Regions from separate parts of the Homo sapiens genome. Here regions 2, 3, 4 and 5 are each linked to region 1. Evidence: promoter capture Hi-C in 16 types of primary human blood cells and fetal thymus (Javierre and others, 2016). All regions are on one chromosome and are shown on one strand. The core of a region is centred on a gene start or on the middle of the fragment in contact, and the rest is flanking DNA. Distances in the headings are between cores, read along the strand shown.

The links. Contacts are between HindIII fragments. The CHiCAGO score rates a contact against its expected background, and 5 or more counts as called.
Region 2: a fragment that was not itself captured here is called in contact with the fragment with the promoter of ZNF227 in region 1 in 1 of 17 cell types (non-activated CD4 T cells); the score reaches 6.7 in non-activated CD4 T cells.
Region 3: a contact is called between a fragment that was not itself captured here and the fragment with the promoter of ZNF227 in region 1, in 1 of 17 cell types (non-activated CD4 T cells). The highest score is 6.2, in non-activated CD4 T cells.
Region 4: a contact is called between a fragment that was not itself captured here and the fragment with the promoter of ZNF227 in region 1, in 1 of 17 cell types (naive CD8 T cells). The highest score is 6.9, in naive CD8 T cells.
Region 5: a fragment that was not itself captured here is called in contact with the fragment with the promoter of ZNF227 in region 1 in 4 of 17 cell types (naive CD4 T cells, total CD4 T cells, non-activated CD4 T cells and 1 more); the score reaches 6.7 in naive CD4 T cells.

What each region holds. Positions count from the first base shown.
Region 1 is chr19:44,211,119-44,213,818 of GRCh38, reverse strand. ZNF227 (zinc finger protein 227) reads right to left here and starts at 1,287. Exons shown (of 6, transcript NM_182490.3): 1 at 1,234-1,287; 2 at 575-729. The HindIII fragment of the contact is 5,683 bases long and covers 1-2,211 here.
Region 2 is chr19:37,500,289-37,502,988 of GRCh38, reverse strand. The region is part of intron 2 of ZNF793-AS1 (ZNF793 antisense RNA 1); the gene reads left to right. Among named protein-coding and RNA genes, the nearest start is that of ZNF793, 5.3 kb to the left of the region's middle. The HindIII fragment of the contact is 7,082 bases long and covers 1-2,700 here.
Region 3 is chr19:37,769,753-37,772,452 of GRCh38, reverse strand. ZNF573 (zinc finger protein 573) reads left to right here. Exons shown (of 5, transcript NM_001172690.2): 3 at 757-889; 4 at 2,356-2,448. Among named protein-coding and RNA genes, the nearest start is that of ZNF573, 8.5 kb to the left of the region's middle. The HindIII fragment of the contact is 2,620 bases long and covers 1-2,618 here.
Region 4 is chr19:37,581,347-37,584,046 of GRCh38, reverse strand. It overlaps ZNF571 (zinc finger protein 571), which reads left to right. Exons shown (of 4, transcript NM_016536.5): 3 at 1-76. The region is part of intron 5 of ZNF571-AS1 (ZNF571 antisense RNA 1); the gene reads right to left. It also overlaps a transcript of ZNF540 not described here. Among named protein-coding and RNA genes, the nearest start is that of ZNF571, 12 kb to the left of the region's middle. The HindIII fragment of the contact is 5,270 bases long and covers 1-2,700 here.
Region 5 is chr19:37,598,615-37,601,314 of GRCh38, reverse strand. It overlaps ZNF540 (zinc finger protein 540), which reads right to left. Exons shown (of 5, transcript NM_001172225.3): 3 at 1,563-1,689; 4 at 210-305. Among named protein-coding and RNA genes, the nearest start is that of ZNF540, 5.1 kb to the right of the region's middle. The HindIII fragment of the contact is 966 bases long and covers 852-1,817 here.

The DNA.
Region 1 (2,700 bases), core at 38-2,537:
TTTCTAAAAAATTCAAAATTCATCAGTGCAGTTTTTGAGGTCTTCCACAGTAAAATCCATACCTACATTCCCAAGGCTGATTTCCAACGACTCACCGGTAGCCATATGGATTACTATTTAAGATAACTGAAGACGACTGTATCATTGAGATTAAGACCACAGACTCAGAAAAAGGAATAGAAAATAAACAACAACAAAAACCAAAGAAACAAAAACAAACAAAAAAGATCACACAGTCTGAAAAGGAATGCTTGGGTTCAATCCCAAATCCACCTCTTACTATCAGTTGAATAACTTCGGGAAAGTATTTAATAACATAAACTCTGCCTAATTTCCTCATAACAAAATAACAAGACCTACTTCATCAATAGCTATGGTCCACAGACGAATGCCTTAAAATCAAAGTGGTAAGATGTTATTGGTAATACTCATTTCCAAGTAGTTTTCCTACCCACTCTCACATTTATTCAACAAATATTTCATCATTTTTCAGTAGTAACTTACTGAGTGACGGAAACTTGATTAACTGAAAGGACAGAAAATGGAACAACAAAGTGCGTTCAAGAGCAGGTACCTGGGGCTATGCTGGGAGAAGCCAAGAAGTCCCTCCTTCCTCCTCTTTGCAAATTCGGAGGCGGTGAATAAAAGGATGCTGTCAGCACGATGGAGTCTCTATCCCGGATAAACGGCGGTAAACATCCCCACGCATTGGAGCCCGATGACTCAATCCTTCTTAAAAAAAAAAAAGATCTGTAAAAGTTCGGGAAGAGCTCGGTCTCCTGAAGGATACGACAGAAAGGCCATGGCATAAAGCCCTGACTTTTCTTCTCTCTTCACTGGAGCTTCCAGTAAAAAGGGCGCTTGTGAGGGAATCACTGTATCAATAGCAGGAGCCAACCCAGTATCAGGTGCCACCACTGTTCTAAGGTTTGACCCGTATTATCTTGTTTAATTCTAATTACAACCCTACACAGTAACGACTATCTTTATTGCTATTTTAAAGATGAGGAAACAGGAGCGCGGATCATAGGTAACTCGCTGTTTATTATACCCACAGAACTAGCGGCGCTGCTTGCCAAGTGCGGGAGGAGAGCAAACTTCCCGCCCTCGGCCTCTCGGCCTCCGCCGCGGCCGCGACCTCTCCATCCCAAGACTGATGGCTGGGGAGCGCCTATTCCCAAGCACAGGCTGAAAAGGTTCAAGAGGGGTCGTGGGGGTGCAGGGCTGACTCACCTCCCGGACCCAAAAGATGGTGGCGGCCTCGCTTTCCGGGGCGGAAGTGGCTCTGCCTGCCCAGAGCTCCTGAACTACCCTTCCCAGAAGGCCCGCGCTCCTGCGGCCCAATTGTTTCCGGACAGAGTTCTGGAATACGTTTCCCAGAACTTCCAGAAGGAAAAACCATCCAGGTGCCGCCCTCTTCGCGCTTGAAAAAAAAAAAAACAAAAAAAAAAACGGAGCGAGCGAGTGAGAGAGGGTTACGGAGAGTGTGACAAAATTCTCGGAGCTCCCGGACTACAACATCCAGAATCCTCTTCACGGCTTATTGCTGTTTAGCCAGGCTGAAGCAGTTCTCTGATGTCAGTGGAATTTAGGTTTTTCTTATTAACAAAAAGTAACAGCAAATATGTGAAGAATTGGAGCCCTAAAATAAAAAAAGACTCCCAGCACTTTGGGAGGCCGAGGCGGGCGGATCACGAGGTCAGGAGTTCCAGACCAGCTTGGCCAATATGATGAAGCCCCGTCTCTACTAAAAATATAAAAATTAGCCGGGCGTGGTGGCGCGCGCCTGTAGTCCCAGCTACTTGGGAGGCTGAGGCATAAGAATCGCTTGAACCCTGGAGGGTGCAGTGAGCCAAGATCGTGCCACTGCACTCCAGCCTGGGCGACAGAGTGAGACTCTGTCTCAAAAAAAAAAAAAAGAAAAAAAAAACTATTATAAGAAACAGATCACGTGATCCTGTACTAATAGAATTATACCCACCACTTCCAAAAAAAAAAAAAAAAAGGGCAGAGGAAACCCTTTAAGTTTTTACATTTAACAGGATCGACTAATAGAAAAACTACTCTTTAGATACTAAAAGAATGAAAGAGCAATCAAAAAATGCAACGAAGGCAGAATATATTATGGATTTCCACTTTTCTTAATAGCACAGTCATATAATTCAGAACAACTTGCTTACTGAGGATAGCTAGACATAGAAAACACAAGCTTTGGCATATGGTAGATCAACTCCACAAAGCAACTAGGGCCTCTGTAATCATTCCTCAAGGAGTTTCTGAATTTGAAAGATGAACAAATTTATTACTTCAGTGTTTAAACCTTGATCTTTATTTGCTTAAATGTATAATGGAATTGATGTTTCCAAGAATTGAGGGTTGAAAGAAGAGAGCAATACCTAAAAATATCCACATATCTACTACAGTACATGTTTGCAGTTCTCATTTACTAAATATATATTCTTTATTCTGTTATATACAACTATCTCTTATAAAGAACCAAGTATGTGCCAGGAACTAGTTCAAACTATTCAGACTATGGGACCCTCACTACATTTTCACAACTTTTTTCTTTTTTTTTTTGTTCTGTTTTGTTGTTGTTGTTGTTGTTGTTGTTGTTAGACAGAGTTTGGCTCTTTTGCCCAGGCTGGAGTGAAGTGGCATGACCTCGGCTCATTGCAACCTCCGCCCTCACACAAGGTT
Region 2 (2,700 bases), core at 27-2,526, 6.7 Mb after region 1:
GTGATTCCTCTAGGCAGAGGAATTCGAGAAAGGAGCCTCTAGGCAGACTAGCTCCAAGGCTCTGGGCTAACCCAACCTGCAGTGACCATCAGCTCTCACCTGTTCCAGTGAGCTTATGCCTATAGGTCCAAGCCTTGAACTAAATGTGGTGGCCCTAGACACTGTCATCATTTAAAAGGGTACAGGGCCCCAAATTTGGCCTAAAAGGAGGCACAGCGCTTCCTTGCTCTGGAGCAGAAAGGACCTTACCTGGGCCTGAGTGTTGTTTGTTGTGGGGGAAAGAAAAATAGATCAGACTGTTATTGTGTTTATGTAGAGAAAGGAAGACATAAGAAACTTCATTTTGATCTGTACTAAGAGAAATTCTTCTGCCTTGAGATGCTGTTAATCTGTAACCCTAGCCCCAACCCTGTGCTTGCAGAAACAGGTGCTGTATTGACTCAAGGTTTAATGGATTTAGGGCTGTGCAGGATGTGCTTTGTGAAAAATGTGTTTGCAGGCAGTATGCTTGGTAAAAGTCATCACCAATCTCCAGTCTCGAGTACCCAGGGACACAATACACTGAGGAAGGCCACAGGGACCTCTGCCCAAGAAAGCCTGGGTATTGTCCAAGATTTCTTCCCATGTGATAGCCTGAGATATGGCCTCCTGGGAAGGGAAAGACCTGACCATCCCCCAGCCCGACACCCGTAAAGGGTCTGTGCTGAGGAGGATTAGTGAAAGAGGAAGCCCTCTTTGCAGTTGAGATAAGAGGAAGGCATCTGTCTCCTGCTCGTCCCTGGGAATGGAATGTCTCATAAAACCTGATCATACATTCTATTTACCGAGATAGGAGAAAACCGCCTTGTGGTTGCTGAGACATGCTGGTGGCAATACTCTTTACTGCACTGAGATGTTCGTGTAAAGTTAAACATAAATCTGGCCTACGTGCACATCAAGGCACAGCACCTTTCCTTAAACTTATTTATGACACAGAGTCCTTTGCTCACGTTTTCCTGCTGACCCTCTCCCCACCATTACCCTATAGTCCTGCCACATGCCCCTCTCCGAGATGGTCAACATAGTGATCAATAAATACTGAGGGAATTCAGAGACTGGGGCCAGCGCGGGTCCTCTGTATGCTGAGCGCTGGTCCCCTGGGCCCACTTTTCTTCCTCTATACTTTGTGTCTTATTTCTTTTCTCAGTCTCTCGTCTCCACCTTGCAAGAAATACCCACAGGTGTGGAGGGGCAGGCCCCCTTCAGTTTGTTGCTGTTTTTTTTTTATTTTTATTTTTTGGTGTTTTGTCTGGTTTAGTTTGGCTTTTTGGTTTTTTTTTTTTTTTTTTTTTTAGAGACAGGATCTTACTCTGTTGCCCAGGCTAGAGTGCAGTGGCACAATCATGGCTCACTGCAGCCTTGAACTCCTGGCCTCAAGTGATCCCCCTGCCTCAGCCTCCCAAGTAGCTGGGACTACTGGTACACACCACCATGCCCAGCTAATTTATTTTTATTTTTATTTTTTTGTAGAGATGGGGTCTTGCCATCTTTCCCAGGCTGTGGCCTGAGTGTCAATAGGGCTGTATCTTGGCATGAGTGTAGGGTGCTCTGGATCTGGGTGGGATGTGACCATCTCCTGGATCAAGGTTGACCGTGGAAGTAGCCTGGGATGAGGAGAGGCCACAGCCCATCCTGTCCTCAGAGTATGTGGAGGCAGGAAGAGCACCGGGGCAATGGGTGAAACAAGTATCAAAGTATAATTTTCAAAAACTTATAATTTTTAACTCTTTTACAGATATTCAAAGATTCATTTCACTTATTAGCAAGGGCATTGGAAATTGATTTCCAAGTGAACAGGTATATACCTATCTTCAGTGAAAAACAATAGAATCTTCGAATAAGATTGCAAAGTTAGATATAAAACTATTTAATATCCCTACAGGGCAATAAAACCATACCTTTAAGGTTATTTCTTCCACACAGAATCAATTTGTAGCTATACCAGATGAATATATGAAAATGCATCAATTGTCTGCTGGGCGCGGTGGCTCACGCCTGTAATCCCAGCACTTTGGGAGGCCGAGGCGGGCAGATCACGAGGTCAGGAGATCGAGACCATCCTGGCTAACATGATGAAACCCCGTCTCTACTAAAAATACAAAAAATTAGCCAGGCATGGTGGTGGGTGCCTGTAGTCCCAGCTACTTGGGAGGCTGAGGCAGGAGAATGGCGTGAACCCAGGAGGTGGAGCTTGCAGTGAGTCCAGATCACGCCACTGCACTCCAGCCTGGGCAACAGGGTGAGACATCTCAAAAAAAAAAAAAAAAAAGAAAAATGAAAAATGCATCAGTTGTCTGCAAGTTAACATCTATTTTTACACCACCTACATCCTAATAAATAACAGTCAATCAAATAAAGGTTCATTACACCAGAGCAATGAATTCTCAACCTGGGGCAGTTTTAAGCCCCAGGGGACATTTGGCAATGCCTGAAGACAATTTTGGTTCTCACAATGATGGGGGTAGGATACTACTGGCATCTAGTGGGAAGAGGCCAAGAATGCTTCCAGCCACTCTGTGTTGTAGAGAACAGTCCTCTGTAACAAAGGATTATCTGGCCCAAAATGTAAACGGTGCTGAGTGTTGGAAAACCAGTCCCTAGAACAGTTTGTTAGACTGTGCTGTAGTATGACTTTGCAAAGATATATGGGATAACAAAATA
Region 3 (2,700 bases), core at 59-2,558, 6.4 Mb after region 1:
TTTTTTTAAATATGGAGATTGGCCAGGTGCAGTGGCTCACGCCTGTAATCCCAGCACTTTGGGAGGCTGAGGCAGGCGGATTGCTTGAGCCCAGGAGTTTGAAACCAGCCTGGGCAACATGGTGAAACCCTGTCTCTACAAAAAATACAAAAATTAGCTGGGCAGGTCCTGCACACCTGTAGTACCAACTACTTGAAAGGCTGAGATGGGAAAATCACCTGGGCCTGGGAGGTCAAGGATACAATGAGCCATGTTTGAGTCACTGCACTCCAGCCTGGGCAGGAGTGAGACCCCGTCCCCAAAAAAATAAATAAATAGCACAAAACAATTAAATATTGGAGATTATTAAATTTGGCAAGGACATCTCATTTTTCTAACTTACAGGAAAAATAGTTTAGAAACTCATGTTTATTGGGAATTTATGCATCACATGACTAGCAGACTATGTAGTTGTGTCTTTAATACTTTATTGAATTTTATTTTATCCATTCCTCAGCAGGTCTGAATTATTGTGGTAACCTTCAACATGCAGAAACATTTGTCTGTGGCAATAGGATCCTTTAGGAATAGGATCCTTTAGGAATAGGATCCTGTGGCAATAGGATCCTTTAGGAATATGTAGACACGTTGCTTTAGTCTGCTACCAGTCATTAGCCACATATACTATATCACTCCTTTTCTCTAATGTGCTCTTGTAATCTCCTATCTTTCCTTCTTTAAAATGTTTTTAAAATTTTGTAATGCATGGGTTTGCAGTTTCAGGAATTAGTGACATTCAGGGATGTGGCCATAGACTTCTCTCGGCAGGAGTGGGAATACCTGGACCCTAATCAGAGGGACTTATACAGGGATGTGATGTTGGAGAACTATAGAAACCTGGTATCACTGGGTAAGTTTATTTGCCTCAAGTAATTTAAAATGTGATCTGTGATATGTTACCTTTCAACACAATGAATTTCAAGGCCATATTTCAAGACATAGTTGAATTTCTCCTTCCTGTTCTTAGAGGAATATTTCAGCTCTGCCTGTTTGACAATGGCTGTGCCACTAAGCACCATCATTTTCTTCATCCTTTAGAGATAGTCACATATTCTCCTGCCCCTTATGATTGCCTCCTTTCCTTAATATCCAAGGGGCTGGGTTAAAATTATATATTATTATTATTAAATTATATATTATTAGTCCATGAATAACCATTGCCCAGGAATCCTGGTTTCCCATTGTGCATATTTCCAGAATTCCTATAGATATGCTGTGTCATCATCTGATCCACCTGCAGGGACAAAAGACGCAGATTCATGATTTACTCTGAGTATAAGAAGAACCCCTGTGACATATAGTGCTGGATTAGATGAACAATATTTATTGGAAACTGAAGAGTCCACATTTCATTTCCTGTAGCCAATTTGTATGATTTATTGTTGAAAGTTATAATTCATGAGCTTTGCATTGAGTTTGAATGAAGATTTTATATATCAGTCGGGATGCTTTTTTTCTCTCATACAGAAATAATAAAATAATTATAATTGGTACAGTTGTGCTCATTATGTCCCCAGCCACTCTTTGGAAGGGAGGGGGAATATATATATATATATATATATATATATATATATATATATAAAATAACTTAATCCTGAAAGAACTGTGTGATAGTGTTATTGTTATTATCTTATTTATTTATTTATTTTTTTCGAGACTGGATCTTGCTCTGTTGCTTAGGCTGGAGTGCAATCATAGCTCACTGTAGCCTCAACCTCCTGGGCTCAAGTGATCCTCCTGCCTCAGCCTCCTTAGTAGTTGGGACTGTAGATGCACCACCATGCCTAATTTTTTTTTTTTTTTTTTTTTTTTGTAGAGATGAGGTCTCGCTCTGTTGCCCGGGTTGGTCTCAAACTCCTGGTCTCAAGTGATCCTCCCACCTCGGCCTTCCAAAATGCTGGGATTATAGGCGTGAGCCACCATGCCTAGCCAATAGTAGTATTATTATGTCCAGTTTATTTGCCAAATTGGAATAATGAGTTGAAGTCACATGGCCAAAGTCACAAGGTTGGTAGATTTAAGAGGAATAATTTGTGCCCCAGCCTTCTGGCTCCAGAGAACTTCACAGCTACTTTGGGGTGGTAATATTTGGAAAGAGACATTTTATAAGGTCACAGGTTAAACTTTCTCCTAAGAGACCACGCGTGTATGAGTTTACATTAAAATAAGGTTTTACTGTGCCTGTTTCATTTCTTCAATCATCTCACCCCTCTTTTATTTGAAGTCCTTAGTTCATTGTAAATTTAATCAAAGCTCAAAGGTTTCTGTTACTTTTGTTTTTATTTTTATACCATGTGGCATTTCTTTTCTTATAAGGAGGACATTCCATTTCTAAACCAGTTGTGGTTGATTTACTGGAGCGAGGAAAAGAGCCCTGGATGATTTTGAGGGAAGAAACACAGTTCACAGGTAAGGAAGGCAGGGGACACCATCAGGGCCGGCCACAGCCCATGTGGTAAGAGAAAGGAGACATTTTTGTGTTGTTTGTGAAACCTTCCTCCAAGGCACCCAGACTTGTGGAGCAAAGGCCTACAACCTGGTTGGGAATAAAGATCGTAGCATAAGCTATGGAAGAAGCTTCAACTTTACCCCATTTACCAATCACCTTATTTCTTTTATATTTCAAACCTGTTTTCAGTGATGGGGCTTTCTTTTTTCTTT
Region 4 (2,700 bases), core at 136-2,635, 6.6 Mb after region 1:
GAATGCCTGGACCCTGCTCAGAGGGACTTGTACAGGGATGTGATGTTGGAGAACTACAGCAACCTGATCTCATTGGGTAAGATCATCCTACGTAATATTCAGAATTTGTTCCCCATAATTTCTGCCTCATTCATTGTGAATTTCTGATCTCCATTCCCTAAGGAAAGGCTTACGTTTGAGTAGAAGTAGAAATGGACAGCTCCACCGTGTACCTTTTTATCTCTTATCCTTTAGACTGTCACATCTTTCTCTGTCACTTCCTGTCAGTGTCTCCCTTCTTTGATGCCAATGGACTAGATTTGAATCTGGGAATCCCCTAGCATGACCATGCACCATTTCCTTTCTTTTAAGCTGTATGTGCAGTCCCTAAGCCAAATATACTTTCCTTACTGGAGCAAGGAAAGGAGCCCTGGATGCTGATGAGAACCATGACATAAAGACAGAGCTCAGGTGAATAAAGGCTGGTCACAGTGTCAGCTATTGCTAATAATACAGCTGATCCGTAGGTGGCAGCACTTTGAGGTGTGTGCCTGAAGCTCTCTTCAAAGGCCTGTGGAAAGAAGGCTTGAGACATAGGGAGAGCAGGAAGGTTATGTGTGTGAGTTCCCCGTGGAACCTCCCTCCCAACTCCCATTTGCCACTCTTCTGTTTTACATTCCCTTTTTGTTTTAATAAGGGAGCTACCTTTGGTCTGATCTCTTTTGGGGACAATGCTTTTATCTATTTTTTGAATTACGTTTTTCCTGGTTGCTCTTTTATAGTTAAACTTGGATAAGTATCTCTAGCCAGCACATACGTACTGAGAGCTTGCTACGTTCATAGGTTAGGAGGACCAGGAATGATAGCTCAGGGGAGGTAACATTTGAATTAAGACCTGAATAAAGTTGGCTGTAAATCAGGGAAAGGTGTGTTCAGGCAGAGGGAAGAGAAGATCCTGAGAGAAACTGAGCTTCACTTGTTTGAGAATCAGCAAGAAGGCCAGTGTGGCTACTGAAAGTGGAAATTTGAGGTGAGGTTAGAGAAATAGGCAGAGGTCAAATCATGTAGGACCTTGTTGGTTGTTGCAAGCAGTGAGATTTTATTCTAAGTGTGATAGGGAGCCCCTGGCTGACTTTTTGCAGACAAGTAAAGGATCTTTGTTTAGAGGTCACTGAGTGCTATGTGAACAGTGAGGATAAAAATGAAAGCAGGAAGACTAATGAGAGGACTAGTTCAGAAGTTCACACTAGAGATAACAGTGGCTTGGAATTGGGTTTAATATGTGGAGGTGATGAGAACAGGCTATATTTTGAAGGTAGAATTAATACCTTCATAATGGAGTTATTTTGAAGATTGGCAATAGAGGCATCAGGGTTTGGAAGGCTGGAGAAGGAAGTCAAGAGTTACGTATTTGATATGCTCATTAGATATCTGTGTGGTGAAGTTAGATAAGCATTTGGAAGCCTGTGGGTGGAGGGGATAGTCAGGACTGAAGAGATAAATATGGGATTACTCTCTGTACCGAGGAACTGAATGAGATTATGGAGCGAATTGGTTTAGACGGAAGGCAAGGTACAGCTCAAGGACTGAACCATGGGGTGTTCCAACATTCAGTCAGGAAAACAATCTAGCAAAGGAAATTGAGGACTAACCTGAGTAACCTGTGACCTAGGAAGAGGGAATGCAGTGTATTGGAAGCCAACTGACAAAAGGAGGAAGCAGTTAGCTGAGAGAGATAATGCTAGGAGTTCAAGTAAGAGGAACGCTGAAAATTGGCTATTGGATTTGGCAGGATGAAGGGTGTTGGTGACCCTGACAAGGTGGGTTTGGCAATGAGAGGAACAAAAACCTCATTGTGGAGTATTTAAAAGAGAGTGAGAAAGAAGTAAGTCAACAATAAAAACTAGAGTGGGACAGTGAATTAACTCACCAGGCACTGTTGAAGGCCCATTTGAGGAACCCTCAAAGTTACAAATAGAGTTTACAATATTTTAGAAGGTTTTAAGAACACTGTAATAATTAGGGGAAAGAAGTGTGATTAGAGTTTATATATGCAGTATTATTTCAACTACATAAAAATCCATGGAACAAATTTAGGAAGGAAATATGGCAAAATGTTAATTATGGTGGTAGGAGAGAAAGAAAAGCAAAAGGTATAGACAGGAAGCATGCATACCTCTTGAGAAGTTTTGCCATTCTCCTGGTTCACCCTGCAGCTCCTGTCCACTGCAGGGTGAACCACAGAATCAGGAGAGGTTTTTGTTTTTTGTTTTTTTTTCACAGGAGAATCTTTAAAATGGTGGTAGGCTGGGCACAATGGCTCAAGCCTGTAATCCCAGTACTTTGGGAGGCTGAGGTGGGTGAATTGCTTGAGCCCAGGAATTCAGGACCAGCCTGGGCAACATAGCAAAACCCCATCTCTACTTAAAATAAAAATTAGCAGGGCATTATGTCACATGCCTGTGGTCCTAGCTACTTGGGAGACTGAGTTGGGAGGATCATTTGAGCCCCGAGGTCGAGGTTGCAGTGAACCATGATCACGCCACTGCATTTCAGCCTGGGCGACAGAGCAAGACCATGTCTCCAAAAAAAAAAAAAAAAGAAAGAAAGAAAGAAATGGAGATAAAATGCTGGAGGGGTGGTATAAAGGTAAATGATCTGGTAACTTCAGTGGTGGTGGTCAAAAAGGACGGTTGCTTGAAAGTGTGCTTTAAGACGTGT
Region 5 (2,700 bases), core at 85-2,584, 6.6 Mb after region 1:
CAGGTGGTAAGTAGGAGCCAAGATGAGGTTCTTTTGATAGTTCATGCTCAGATGATCTGTTTTCTTCCCTGTCTTAACCTTTACTCCAAAGGCCTGAGGCCTCTGAGAGTAACTCCCTAAACAGCATGCAAAGCCTGTATATGCTCCCTCACCAGCTGGCCGTGACTGGCAATGAGGGCTTCCATCTGCCTGATGAACTCTCAACTCACCGGGGCACTGTCTTCCTGTCACATCCCTCGCCACCACGCAGGGCTCTTTCCCTTGCTCCAGTAAGGTAATCACATCTGGCTTTGAGCCAGAATATCCTGCTTACAAGAAAGAAATAAAAGAATATATAGAAATAAAACATTGCACATTCAGAAACATTTTGAGACTTGGTTAAATTTATATGGATCAACATGATTTCGATGAAGACTTCGGAAAAAACTGACAGGATTAAAGAATATTCAACTTAGTGTAACCTCAGGATCCCAGAGAATAAAGAAACTTGATGGGCAGGGGAATTAAAATTCATCTAGGAGAATTTTAATTCATTTTGGAATTAAAACTCATACAGACTGGCTCTATTGAGAGGCAGTAGTTATTGAGGGCATAGCCTCTGAAGCCAGACTATGTGGGTCCAAATTCTACTCTACTACCTATTGACTAATGATTGTAAACAAACTGGTTAAATTATTTGGGCCTCAGTTTTTTCATCTGTAAAATGAAAATAAAAGTAGTACCTTTTATTTTCTTTTTTTCTTTTGTATCTTGTAGCTAGTACTTAGAATGATGCCTGGTATATAGTAAGCACTCTATTAGCTATTATTATTTTTGTTGTTGTTAATTTACTTAGAGCAAAACAAGAAGCTTCCTAAAATATTTCTAGGTTCTTGCTAAGATATTCATTTAAAGTTAGATGCTAAGTTAATAAATTTTATTTTACTTTAACTAATTTCAACTTTTATTTTAGATACAGGGCCATACGTGCAGGTTTGTTACCTGGGGATATTGTGTGATGCTGAGGTTTGAGGTACATTTGATCCCACCACCCAGGTACTGAGCATAATGTCCAATAGGTAAAATTTTCAATCACAAATCAGTAAGAGAAAATATTTGTTTTAGGAAGTAGAATGCATTCACTTTAATTTTAAATCAATGTTATTGGTCTGAACCATGACATGTAAATTGTAGACCCTGGGTAGGGCTGTTATCCTTATAGGCATGTTACCAAATAACAGAGCATCCATAGCAATTCTGAGCTCAAATGCAATGTGAAACCTGATTTCATTGACATTGGCTTTGGAGTAAATGCCCCAAAATTCAAATCCAGTCTCTTAACTATTAAGGAAGAAGTAACTACAGTAATGGATTAAGGAACATTTCATGAGGCTCAGTGAGGTATGGTGAAAATGAAAGCATTTAGTGGAAGTGCCATTCACAAACCATCAAAGTTCAGTCCATTCCTTGAGGAAGAGAGAAGAAATTCAGCTAGTTTCTTAATAATTAGTCCTAAATTTGTGGAAGAGAAAGCTACTATTTCAGATAACAGAGTCTACATTATTTGACATAGGTGACCTTACCCAGTGAGACCAAGTTATTATAATTCTCCAACATCACATCTCTGTACAATTTCCTCTGGGTAGTGTCCAGGCACTCCCATTCCTTCTGAGAGAAGTCTATAGCCACATCCCTGAACGTCACCAATGCCTGAAACCATAAACCAACATATTACTGGTGAAATTACAGAACAAGTATTTTAAAAAGAAGAAAAGGAGATAAAAGGTTTCATTGCAGCAAGGGGTACTATACTAAACTCTAGGCTGGGGCTGAAAGCTTATGATAAAGATAGAAGAAAGGAACCAGGTGTTCTAAAGCAGAGTCACCTCATTTTCTTGAAGAATCCAGCCACTATATGCAAAATTTCCTGTATATTATGGGGTTCTTTAACTACTCAAAACATTTCTGGGAACAAATAAATGTTTCCCAATTCAATTAAACAGTGGATACAAGCAAATAAACTATATTTCTACCTCAAAAATTCTCAATAAATTATTACTTAATAATAAATACTTTAAGAAAAACCACTTAATACATAAAAAAGAATCCTATATCCTCTTTTTCCTTTAAGTTTATCTATCTATCTATCTATCTATCGATCAATCGATTGATCAATCGAGACGGAGATCTCACTCTGTTGCCCACGCTGGAGTACAGTGGTGAACTCAGAAGTTCGAGGCCATAGTACCTCACTGCAAATCTGGGAGAATACAATTAACTAATATTTATGTATCTGGATGATTTTCTTATAAGTACTACACACCTTCTTTTTTCTTGAGATTAAGAATATTGATGTAATGAACCAGAATCATACTGATGTCAAGACTAGCACATTCCGTTTAACCACAAAATGCGTCTTACTATGGGTTTTCACCTCAGAGATTCTCAGGAAAGATCCCCTGGCCTCTCTATAAGCAGGCCCCAACCACATACTGAAACTGAGGCCAATCAATATTAAACTGCATTTATCTACAGACACAGGATCTGTGGAAAACTGCAGTGCTTTCCTACGTGTAGTCAAATGATTCCATTCTTGGTTTCATTACACCTCAGATCTGACAAAGGATGGTAAAGTACCTCCCCCTCTAGGAACTTCATGTCTGTTCCATCTCTGCCCTAGACAGAGACTGAGTACCCTGAATGAGTTGGTCAATGTGCATG